4 separate regions of the Homo sapiens genome follow, and all the other regions are linked to region 1. Evidence: promoter capture Hi-C in 16 types of primary human blood cells and fetal thymus (Javierre and others, 2016). All regions are on one chromosome and are shown on one strand. Each heading gives the region's core, a stretch centred on a gene start or on the middle of the fragment in contact. The rest is flanking DNA. Distances are from core to core; before and after follow the strand shown. Region 1 holds the start of MXI1 (MAX interactor 1, dimerization protein). Region 2 overlaps ADD3-AS1 (ADD3 antisense RNA 1). Region 3 overlaps ADD3 (adducin 3). Region 4 has its middle 81 kb from the start of DUSP5-DT.

Region 1 (2,756 bases), core at 27-2,526:
GCTGCATCGCACACCTCCAGGGGGCAGCATTGTCTTTGTCCTCTATATAAATGGTTCCCCTGGAGGAAAACTCCAGGTGACCTTGCAAAGTAACCATATTTAGATGGGCTTGTCATAGAGATATTTTCCAAGGAAGTGCAGAAGAGTCTTGTTCACTACATCTTGTTCCTTTCTTAGATACAAGTTACATCAGAATAGGGGACTCAGGCTCTTGCCTGGGTCTGGATTGGAAGAAAAAGAGCTTACCATGGGCCAGAGTGTGCTAAGTCAGATACAATACACAAGCATCTTATCACACATTTCAATGATGTGGAAACTTAGGCCAAGAGAGGTTAAGGGACTTGTCCAAGCTCACACAGTCTGTATGCAGCAGAGCTGGGATTTGAACCCTTTCCTATGGCACCCTAGAGCAGCCTTCAATCATCCCCTGACACCTCCAGTACTTCCCAGGGCTGGAAAGCATCCATGATTGCGGACAGCAGTGGCAGTGAAACAATGTCAGCTGGGGTAGGGGTTTTCAGAGGCAAAAGGTGGAATTCAGCTGGGGAGGGGGGTGGTTCCTGAGCTGCCACTTCTGCCTCTCAAATTAAAGGGAGCCAGGTGTGGAGGCATCCTGGTGTGAGCTTTGCACAGCTGAACCAAGGCTGGGCAGAGGAGTGTGGAGAGGGATGCTGACATCTCCTCCCACTTCTGGAAAATAACTTTGCATTTGAAGGGAGAAAGGCATGAGTAAATCTGTAACTCGGATTTGGACGGCCTGGGATTTCATTTGACTGTGTGAAGGCACACACAGGTGCCTCGCAAGTGTGTGCGTGATTACGTATGTATGTGTGTCTGTGAGTAGGAGTGTTTGTGTTGGGGGTGGGGGGATCTTCTGGTTACACACTGGTTCCCTTCTTCCCATTTGGATTGGGGAGCTTTTATTTATTTATTTTTAAGTCATAGCAGCCACCATGTATGGGGACCTAACTATGTGCCAGGCATTGTGCTGGACACTTTCTGAGGCATTATTTTTCTGTGAAAAAAGTAGTTTGTTTTTATGCAGGTGCACCCAGAGACATCAGGTATTTTTTTCCATTCCGGTTAAAAGACAGTGTTCTACTCTGTGGTAAGCCTTGGGGAGAGGCAGGGAAGCCTGCGGGGACGGGCAGGGGCGGTCCCTGCCTCGCTCGCTAGTCTCCACCTTTTATTTTGACCGGTCCGATGGCGACAGGCTCGCACTAGGACCCAGGCGCCAGAGTGCCTCCGTCTGTCCTGTAGGTTCATTCAATCTCCCATACACACAGACTCACAGCGAGACCGACACACACTCCCATACACTCACACACACAACTGCAGGCAGCGAGGCTCGGGAAGTCAGGCCGGCTTTTCGCCCCGGCGCCTTCTCTGCTCCAGCCGGCCGGGTCTCCCTGGGGGCCCGGAGCTCGGCCGGGCCGCGCAGCCCCGTTAGAGGACGAGCTCGGCGGACCCCCGCTCCTCCATGGGCAAACGCGGGCGGCCGCGCAAGGAGGCGCGCTGCGAGGGCGCGGGGCTGGCCCCCGCCGCGCCCCCGGCTGTGCCCCCCGCCGTGGCCGCGCCCCAGCCCCCGGCCCTGCCCGAGGACCCCGCTGGGGCCAAGCCCAGGTGCCCCTTCTCAGACATTTTCAACACCAGCGAGAACTCGATGGAGAAGCACATCAACACTTTTCTGCAGAACGTGCAGATTCTGCTCGAGGCCGCCAGCTACCTGGAGCAGATCGAGAAAGAAAACAAAAGTAAGTTTGGGGGCCCCTGCTCTTCCTCGGCGCCCGGTTCTTTCTTTCTCGCCCACTTGGGCGACCCCTGTTGCGAGCTCGGCCCGTCCCCCCCCCGCCCAACATACACATCCAGCCCTTGGCAGTAAAGCCGATGACACCGGAGAAAGGACACGCACGCACAAAGCTGCTAAAGATGTAACAAAGACGGGCGAGGGGGAGAGGGGCCTGTCGGTGCGTCGGTCTGTCCTCTCCGGCGGGCTGGGGCTGGGAGGATGGCCCAGCGGAGGAGCGGGGGAGTGTTGTTGTTTGCTGACAACTGAGCCGAGAGCTCATCTCTTTGAGGTCGCTTTTCTTCCTTTTTTTTTTTTTTTTTTCCGGAGCCTTCTCAGGCAGACAAGTGTTGTTTTTCTGTTGCTCGTTCCTGGGTGGGGTGGGGATTAGAAGCCGAAAGTTGGAAACCATAGGCAGAGCTCAGAGGTTCCAGAAAGAAAACACACAGACACACACTACAACAATAACAACCAAACAGCTCTCCACGGCGTGGGCTCGGCTCTGTCTCTCTCTCTCCCTCCTACTTCGCCTTTTTCCTTCCCTCTAGCAGCAGGACTGGGCTCAGGCCATCACGTCTACGGACACAGTCCCCCTGCACGTCCGTTGCCGTGGGGTGCCACCGCCGCCCCCCCCCCCCCAAAGAAGGAGGCCGGCGGGGCCAAGCAACGCCAGCAGCTCGCCCCGGACACGCCGTCCTGAGCCCGGGAAACTTGGCCGTGGGGACGCGGCTAGAAGGAAACTTTGGGATCTTTGAGAAACAATAGTTGGGGAAGAAGGTGTGGGCTGTTCTGTGCTTTTTCTTTATTTTCCGGGAGACGGCTCTTGAGTGAGCGCACAGGGCAAGCAAGGCAAACGCCTTCCTGGTCGATTTCTACTCCCCCCACCCGCCCACCCCCAGATTCACGTGGATAGTAGTGCGTGGGTGGGGGTGTGCTGGGAACCCCACCCTGGCCTGGCTTCTTTTTTGTA
Region 2 (2,932 bases), core at 158-2,657, 220 kb before region 1:
TTGCCTAAGCCAATATCTAGAAAGTTTTTTCTGATGTTATCTTCTAGAGTTTGTATAGTTTCAGGCAAAAGCAACCAAGCTGAGAAATCAAGATCTCAACTCCTTTTACAATAGCTGCAAAAAAATTAAATACTTAGGAATATACCTAACCAAGGAGGTGAAAGGCCTATACAAGGAAAACTACAAAATACTGCTAAAAGAAATCATAGATGACACAAACAAATGGATCAACATCTCATGCTTATGGATGGGTAAAATAAATATTGTGATAATGACCATACTGCCAAAAGCAATCTACAAATTCAATGCAATTCTCATCAAAATACCACTATCATTCTTCACAGAACTAGAAAAAAAATCTTAAAATTCATGTGGAACTAAAAAAGAGCCTGCATAGCCAAAGCAAGACTAAGGAAAAAGAACAAATCTAGAGGCATCACATTACCTGATTTCAAACTATACGATAAGGCCACAGTCACCAAAACAGCATAGTACTGGTATAAAAATAGGCACATAGACCAATGGAACAGAATAGAGAACCAAGAAATAAAGCCAAATACCTACAGCTAACTGATCTTTGACAAAGCAAACAAAAACATAAAGTGGGGAAAGGACACACTATTCAACAAATGGTGCTTGGATAATTGGCAAGCCACCTGTAGGAGAATGAAACTGGATCCTCATCTCTTACCTTATATAAAAATCAACTCAAGATAGATCAAGGACTTAAATCTAAGTGCAGGCTTTATTTTCATTTAATTTTATTAACTTGTTTGCTTTTTATTATAAAAGTAATATATACTTATGTTTAAGTTGACTTTGGCTGGGAGTGGTGGCTCGCCCCTGTAATCCCAGCACTTTGGGAGGCCAAGTTGGGTGGATCACTTGAGATCAGGCATTCGAGACCAGGCTGGTCGACATGGTGAAACCTCTTCACTACTAAAAACACAAAAATTAGCTGGGTGTGGTGGTACAATTAGCAATTAGCACCAAAATGAGCATCCTTGTGTTTGTATCTTTAAGCACTTATTTGATTGTATTTAGACGATAAATTCCTAGAGTTACTGGGTCAAAAGACACATGCATTTTACATTTTTATAGATATCCTCCATGGACCTTAGTACCAGACAAAGCTGGGATTGAATCTGTACTCTGATACTAGCTGTGTTGCTTCAAACATGTTACTTTATTCTTTCTCAGCCTCAGTTTCCTTGGCTGTAAAATGGATATAGATTATATCTCAGAGTTGTTCAAGGATTAAACAATATGTTTAGTTCAAAATGGTTAGCAGTTCACATATATTCATACCTTTCTCTCCTCTTTATTGTCCCTCTCCTAATTCCTCTCTGAGTTTTTGCAAAGATTTGGCAAATATCCCATTTCATTTTATGTCAACAAATATTTATAAAACATTTAATATGTGCAAGTTTTGACAAACGCTGTAGGGATTCTAAATGTTTTCTTTTAAGGCACAGTCCTTTCTGGAACTTACAGTATTGTACAGGAGAAAACTATCTCCCAGGTCCTACAATAGGGCAGGCCCTTACTTAACATGTTTGGAATGAGTGAGTAAAGAAAGGAAGGAATGTTGCTGAATGAGTAACACCACAGTCTGGAAAAGAGCTCAGTGTAGGTCCTAGCAGCATAGAGTGGAGCATGGAGTCAAAAGTGACGGAGATGAGATTTTGCAAAACTTTTCTTCTGGATTTTACCTAATCACAAGGGAGGCATTGGGGCTGAAGGCCAAAAAAGCATTTGCTAGAAATATACTTAAAGTCTTATGTTTTAACTTAAAACTTCACATGAAGTTTGCATTCTACTCCATAACACATTGTTTGTTTCCAAATAAATGGAATCTTTCTCCTCAGTCCTAGCATAAAATGAACATTCCAAGAAAATGTACTATATTTATTGGGTGGCTCTAGTTCCTCCTGACATGCTTTCAGAGATATATACACCCAAGTTTGAGAAGCGTGAGATTAAGATAGATGCAGAATGAGTTCTCACTTCATGCTTCACCAGCCATCTCCCCTCTGTCTGTACTACACACCCACTCACAGCCTCATCCCTCTCAACTTTCTGCTAAAACTCTTACCTACCCCTGTTTTCTCTTCAATCCTGGTGTTGTTTTCCTTACCAATCTAAATTTTATGTTGACACTCTGCTACTCAAAATATATGTAAGAAAAAGAAATCAGCTACAAAACTCTTCCAACATCACTTGAGGTCATTAAAGTCTCAAGGGACCCTGTCATTCATCCACATTGTGTTAGCTTCTTCTGTCTCATCCCGGTCATCTATGACAATAGACTCTCAGAGAGATGTAGCTTGTTTCATTTAAATCTTGAAAAGCACCCAAACTAATGCTGTGGTCAATTAATGTTGCTTGGGTTCTGAGCATTCAGCTGAGTGTTCTCCTCTGTGTTTGAAGGACACTGTAAATGGAACACATGTTTTGAATTGCTTCTCCAGAGCTCTGATCTTTCCACCCCTTCTCTACCCCCACTGCTTGGGCTCTGGGTCAGTCCTCATCATCTCTTGTGTGGATTATTTCCCTAGCTCCTTCCATGGGTCTTCTTGTCTTTCTATTCTACCCTCCTCGAAGCTGCTAAAGTAGCTTTTCTAACCCAGAGGTCAGCCCACACTACTCCCTTGCTTAAAACTTAGGTGGCAACAATCTATAACCATGGGCAAGGACATTCCATTTCACTTATAAACATGAGTGAAAGAAGCCAGATACAAAAAAAGTACACACGTTAAAGCTGTAAAATGGATATAAATTCTATCTCAGAGTTGTTCAAGGATTAAACAATATGTTTAGTTCATAATGGTTAGAAAACCGATCTATGGGGTTAGAAGTCAGGATAGTGATTCCACTTGGCAGGGATGTGGAACAGTAGTGATTGGTAGGGAGCACAAAAGGGGTTTCTGAT
Region 3 (2,844 bases), core at 169-2,668, 180 kb before region 1:
AAATACCACATGTTCTCACTTAAAGTGGGAGGTAAACATTGGGTACACGTGGACATAAAGACAGAACAGTCGACACTGGGGACTACTAGAGGCAGAAGAGAGGGAGGGGATAAGGGCTGAAAAACTGTCCAGCACAATGCTTACTTCCTGGGTGATAGGATCAATTGTACCCCAAACCTCAGCATCACACAATATACCCGTGTAATAAGCCTGCAGAGGTACACCCTGAATCTAAAATAAAAGTTGAAATTATAAACAGAACTTTTGTGCAATGGAATAACAAAAGAATTGAAGGCATTGGGCTTTGCAATATCAGGTATTGCATGTTGTCATTACAGGAAGTCATTGTGCCATCTTGGTTTCCCCTTAATAACATATGGTGGTTTATCTTGAAACTTCAAAAGTAAACATAGCGTAAGCACCTATAATAAATTATTGCCAAAAAAAATCACATGCAGAATTATTTTTGCTATGTGAATTTAGTGGAGAATCCAATCCAGTAAGACTTTTTGCACATTTGAATGGTGAAACAAGATGATTTGGCTCCTCTAGTAGCTTTGTTGCATGCACAGTTGACCATTTTTGTTTGTAGCTCCTTGTAATAAGATATTTAACACAGGGCTTTATATTGGGACATAGTGATTTTATAAATGGGTGGGAGAAAACACTGAATTTGACAGAACTAACTTCTAGATTATTTCAATGTAAAATTTTCATGCTTAAAATTTTTAAGTGTTAGATGTTTAAAATAACTTACTCAAAAGTAATTCTTAGTAAAATGAAAATCAGTGAAAAGCACTCAGTTTTTTAAAAGCAAGAATGATTTTATTGGTTTCAAAGTTAAACTTACTATTTGAATCAAATTTTTATAAAATCCATTTATTTTTTAAATACTTGAAATTTTGAGTAAGAAATATAAGGACATGGAACAAAATAAGGCACAAAAGCGTATACAGTGAAAAGTAAGTTGTCACCCCCAAACCACTCAAGTTTCCTCCTCTTTTCTTTTTTTTTTTTTTGGAGACAGAGTCTCACTCCATCACCCAGGCAGGAGTGCATTGGGTTCAAGTGGGTTCTTGTGCCTCAGCCTCCTGAATAGCTGGAGTTACAGGCGTGCGCCACCATGCCTGGCTAATTTTTTTGTATTTTTAATAGCGTCGGGGTTTTGCCATGTTGGCCAGGCTGCTCTTAAACTCCTGGCCTCAAGTGATCCACCCACCTCGGCCTCCCAAAGTGCTGGGATTACAGGTGTGAGCCACCGCACCTGGCTGTCATTTTATTAAAACGTTTCCTTTCCTAGCGTCCGTTCCACTAAGGCAGAGGTATAGAAAGTGGGAGGTGGTAGCTATAATAATCTTTCACTCATACTATAGTATAAATAATACTTTTTAAATTTAATAATACTAATTTAATTTAATATTTTTTTAATTTTAGTTCGATATTTGTGGGAGAGATGGGAATCTTCAGAGTGGTGGTAGCCAACTTCTGCCTCCATGGTTCAATTAAAAGCAAGTCCCCTAGTTAATAGAAGTAAGGGGTCTCTAGGCTTGCAAGTTTCTTCAGATGCTAAAATTATGCCTTTGTGTAAAATCAGACTTTCTGTTATATGAGTAGACGTAGGAATTCTCTGTATACTTTAAAGGAGAAGCAAATAGAAATAGAGAGGGTGATAAAATCTAGATTCATAGAATTGTGGAAACCTTACTTCATTTTAAGAGTGAAGAACCCAGTCTGATTAAAGGAAGTTCCGTGTTTAAGGCAACATGTTGCTTGTGGCAGATCTAGACTCAAAACTGAGATTCCTGCCTCTGTCCAGTGCTTTTTTCACTTCATTACATTACGAGCCATCTTAACTCCATTCATGCAATTCTGGGGTAAGGGGTTTTGTCAGAATTCCACCTGACCTTCCCTAGAGCAGGGTTTGGACAGGATGAGAGACCCCAATCTCTCAGATTTGAGGCTTCTTTTCAAGATATCTGTTTTTCCCTTTTCCTTAAAAAAGAAAAAAAAAATTTCATCGAATTTGGGAAAGTTTTGTGAAGTTTTTTCCAAAATCTGTAATGTGTCAGGATCTTTCTTGTTTTCTTAATAGAAGCCACACTGATATTATGTATATTGTTCCAATTTTAGTGTGCTCACCACTGAAGCAAGTCATGTACATGGTAAATGTTTCTGACATGTTTAGGAACATTATATAGAAAATTCAGAATGGATGTATTTGGCTGCCTTGACATTCCTTTTTCTTTTGGAAAGGAATGTATTTAAATGAGAAACAGTTCCACCCCTCCAATGAAAAGGAATAGTTTTAGGTCATTTGAGTGAAATAGATTATAGAACTTATGACCCCAGTTTTCTTGTTTTTTTTTTTTTTTTGAAACGGAGTTTCACTCTTGTTGCCCAGGCTAGAGTGCAGTGGCGTGATCTCGGCTCACTGCAACCTCAGCCTCCCGGTTCAAGCAATTCTCCTGCCTCAGCCTCCTGAGTAGCTGGGATTACAGGCACGTGCCACCACGCCTGGCTAATTTTGTATTTTTAGTAGAGATGGGGTGTCTCCATGTTGGTCAGGCTGGTCTTGAACTCCCGACCTCAGGTGATCCGCCCACCTCGGCCTCCCAAAGTGCTGGGATTACAGACGTGAGCCACCACACCCGGCTGATTGTACTTTTAAGTCAGTTTTAATAGGACCCAGGTACAAGGTCAAGGTACTTGAGAATTTTTGGATTTAATGTTTTACATTGGTTTAAACTGGTTGGAGTCTGGCTGTGTTTCCTGGTGACAATATTCATATTAAAAATCTTATAGGTCAGTTTTTATAAAAACTATGTAATATTTCTTTTAAGTTAA
Region 4 (2,887 bases), core at 152-2,651, 210 kb after region 1:
TTGCATCAATCTGCTCAGACAGCTGCCTGAAGTGGGGTTGAATTCTTCAAATAATTGCCTCACTCCTCAGCTTCTGTTGAGCCTCTGGAGATATATCTAGAAGGTCAGGACTGTGCTTGCTTCCTGAAAAGTCTGGGGATGGAAAGAAGGGAGCACTTTTCATTTCCCAGGGCATAACGCATTGCAGAAAATGATCAGAGAGCATCAGCAGTCCTCCTTGGGTTCCACTGTATGTGGCCAGCGGCCAGGTTGGGAGGTCAGAGACAAAGGCAGACTCCAGTATAGACGCTCTGTGGCCTGCTTCTCATGTACCTGCTCTCACACACGTGTGCACACACACATACATGCATGCACCTTCTCTCGCCTCTCTCTTTAAGGTCTGGAAGAAAGCTACCATAAGTTTGAGCAGTTGGCCACATGGTCTCATTTGGGCTCTCAATTGGACTAGCAATTTCAGGAATTTGAACAGCAATTTTTGAACAGGGAGTTTGGGGAACGGCAGCAGGGGAAAGTTGGGAGGCGCAGAAGGGGTTGTGAAATGCATGCTACAATTCCGTCATCAGCCCCTTCCTGTTGTTCTGGTACCGGGGGGAAACCTGGGCTGGCAAGACTGCGCTTCCTCCATCTAGAAGCTTTCCTCAGGCCTGCTGAGTCACCCACCTGCTGCGGGGAATGCACCTATTTTTAGCCTGAGGTAAATGAGCCCTGTAGTCACCCAGACCACATTCTCTTGGGTGTCTTTGTCACAGATGGTGTGGCCGGATGGGGACCACATTGAAGAGACCTCACCCCCACCCCTAACAAGGTCTCTTCCTCTCCTTCCTCTGAGAAGCCTCACTGCACAGCAGTGACTCACATAACCCCAGGAGAGAATGCGGCAGAGGGTGGCAGTGGGTGGCATACCAAGCTAGTGGGGGTGTGGCGGGGACAGAAGTAGTTTATCACTGACGTTGATTAGAATTGCTGGTGCATCACTGTTAGTCAGTTTATTATTGTTTGTAATTTTTCTGTAGATGATATGACCTCTTATTGTACCCATGTGCACCATTCCTATGGCCCCGTCCTTGGGGACACCACTGCTTGGGAGTTAAGATGGTGGAGATCTGGACCCCAGCAGCCTGACTAAAGGAGGCTTTACTACTTACTAACTGTTTGACTCAAGCAAGACCCTTTACCACTCTGAGACCCAACCTTGGAGCTCCTGGTCTGGTACTCAGGTCACAGAGGCTGGTAATGGATTCACAGGATTGAGAGCAGGAAGGGCACCAAGATGTCATCCCTTGCTCTATTGAGGTGAAAATGGAAGCAAAGAAAGGGGCAGATGCTTGCCTGTATCAGATGTCCAGAGACCCCTCTAAGACCTTGTTCAGGCAGAGCCACCTGTTAGGTAAAAGGTTGGTAAAAAGCAGGTGCTGATGACAAGGCCACTGTTGGTCAGAACTATTTCTACTTCAGTCTGTATCCAGCCCCTGCACCCAGTATAATGTAGTAGAGTATTTCTCGGAGAAGGGTGTGTGGACCACCTGCATCAGAATTACCTGAATCCCCTGGGGTGCTCATTAAAACTGTGAGTTTCTGATCCCCATCCCAGACTTGGGGGTTTGCTCCCAGCACTGTCACTCACTAGCTAGGGAATTTGGGGGGTGTCAAACTATCTGTGTACCACTTTCCTCACCTATAAAATGAGGCTAAACCTCCTTATGTACATGTGAGGGACAAATGTATTTGCATGGGTGAGAGGTGCAGCCCGTCGCCTGGCACATTGGAGCTAGGCAACTTGTGATTTGAGTTCTTAGTATTTGTTTCTTATCCCCAGGCAGCTCCTGAAAGGCTTCACTCTTCTGCCCTGGTGCAGAAACGGGCCCTACCTCTTTCAGATTGGCCTGGAGCTGTCAGCTACCAGTGACTTCCAGAACCAACTTGCAAATGTCTGCCAATCAGTGGCACTGCTCAGACCAGAGCTCAGATAAGATGTTCTGCAGTCTGCTGAGAAAATCTTCCAACACAGTTGTGGGACACAGAAGTCACTCACCAGAAACACTGGTCATATCACTTCTCCTTATCTCTCTTCCTGGTGACGAAGCCCAATGCCTGTGAGATCTTTTTAAACAGAACCCTTTTTCCAAATAAGATTTGACCCGACACAGGGCCCCAGTGTATGTGAACAATAAAAGCTTCACTCCACTAGTTTAAATATATTTTCTAAGAAGTTCAAGTTTCCAACATGTTACTGTGTTACTTATGAAATCAGTGTGAACACAACTGAGGTGAGCTCCAGTGTGTGAAAATCACGTATCACTTCTAAATGTGCATGGTGCTGCTTATTACAAATATTCAAGTAGTTTAAAATACATTTTGGGCCAGGCACAGTGGCTCACACCTGTAATCCCAGCACTTTGGGAGGCCAAAGAGGGAGGATGGCTTGAGCCCAGGACCAGCCTGGGCAACATAGGGAGACCCCCATCTCTACAAAAAAATTAAAAATTAGCTGGGTGTGGTGGCATACACTTATTGTCTCACCTACTCAGAAGGCTGAGGTGGGAGGATCACTTGAGCCTAGGAGCTTGAGGCTGTAGTGAACCATGATCCATGCCACTGCACTCCAGCCTAGGCAATAGAGTGAGACCCTGTCTTAAAATAAATAAGTAAAAATAAATAAAATACATTTTGGGAATTATATTTGAATTGAGTATTCACAAAAGCCATGAAGCTCCCTTGGAAAAAGCCAAGATTTTGGTTAGCATGGTTTGCAATCCCTGGAGGATTCCAAACACCTTTTACTGGGTAAGGACATAGAGGCCTGGGTGGGAGAAGGGCTACATCAATCCAATAAGTGGCCAGCTTTGAGAATCAAGGCCTACTGGATCTCAAGCCAGGGTTCCTCCCA

Evidence for each region. The method cuts DNA at HindIII sites, captures the fragments that hold promoters and counts their contacts. A CHiCAGO score of 5 or more calls a contact.
Region 2: a fragment that was not itself captured here is called in contact with the fragment with the promoter of MXI1 in region 1 in 8 of 17 cell types (naive B cells, total CD4 T cells, erythroblasts and 5 more); the score reaches 8.0 in naive B cells.
Region 3: a fragment that was not itself captured here is called in contact with the fragment with the promoter of MXI1 in region 1 in 2 of 17 cell types (naive CD8 T cells and activated CD4 T cells); the score reaches 7.0 in naive CD8 T cells.
Region 4: a contact is called between a fragment that was not itself captured here and the fragment with the promoter of MXI1 in region 1, in 2 of 17 cell types (naive B cells and fetal thymus). The highest score is 5.5, in naive B cells.

The regions. Positions count from the first base shown.
Region 1 is chr10:110,206,329-110,209,084 of GRCh38, forward strand. It overlaps MXI1 (MAX interactor 1, dimerization protein), which reads left to right and starts at 1,277. Exons shown (of 6, transcript NM_130439.3): 1 at 1,277-1,754. The coding sequence starts at 1,481. RefSeq lists a silencer at 1,448-1,527. The HindIII fragment of the contact is 6,685 bases long and covers 1-2,756 here.
Region 2 is chr10:109,986,023-109,988,954 of GRCh38, forward strand. All of the region lies in intron 2 of ADD3-AS1 (ADD3 antisense RNA 1), which reads right to left. Among named protein-coding and RNA genes, the nearest start is that of ADD3, 20 kb to the right of the region's middle. RefSeq lists an enhancer at 1,323-1,824. The HindIII fragment of the contact is 9,885 bases long and covers 1-2,932 here.
Region 3 is chr10:110,023,926-110,026,769 of GRCh38, forward strand. All of the region lies in intron 1 of ADD3 (adducin 3), which reads left to right. Among named protein-coding and RNA genes, the nearest start is that of ADD3-AS1, 17 kb to the left of the region's middle. The HindIII fragment of the contact is 8,514 bases long and covers 1-2,844 here.
Region 4 is chr10:110,414,043-110,416,929 of GRCh38, forward strand. No RefSeq gene overlaps it. Among named protein-coding and RNA genes, the nearest start is that of DUSP5-DT, 81 kb to the right of the region's middle. RefSeq lists enhancers at 202-1,401, 576-705. The HindIII fragment of the contact is 1,542 bases long and covers 631-2,172 here.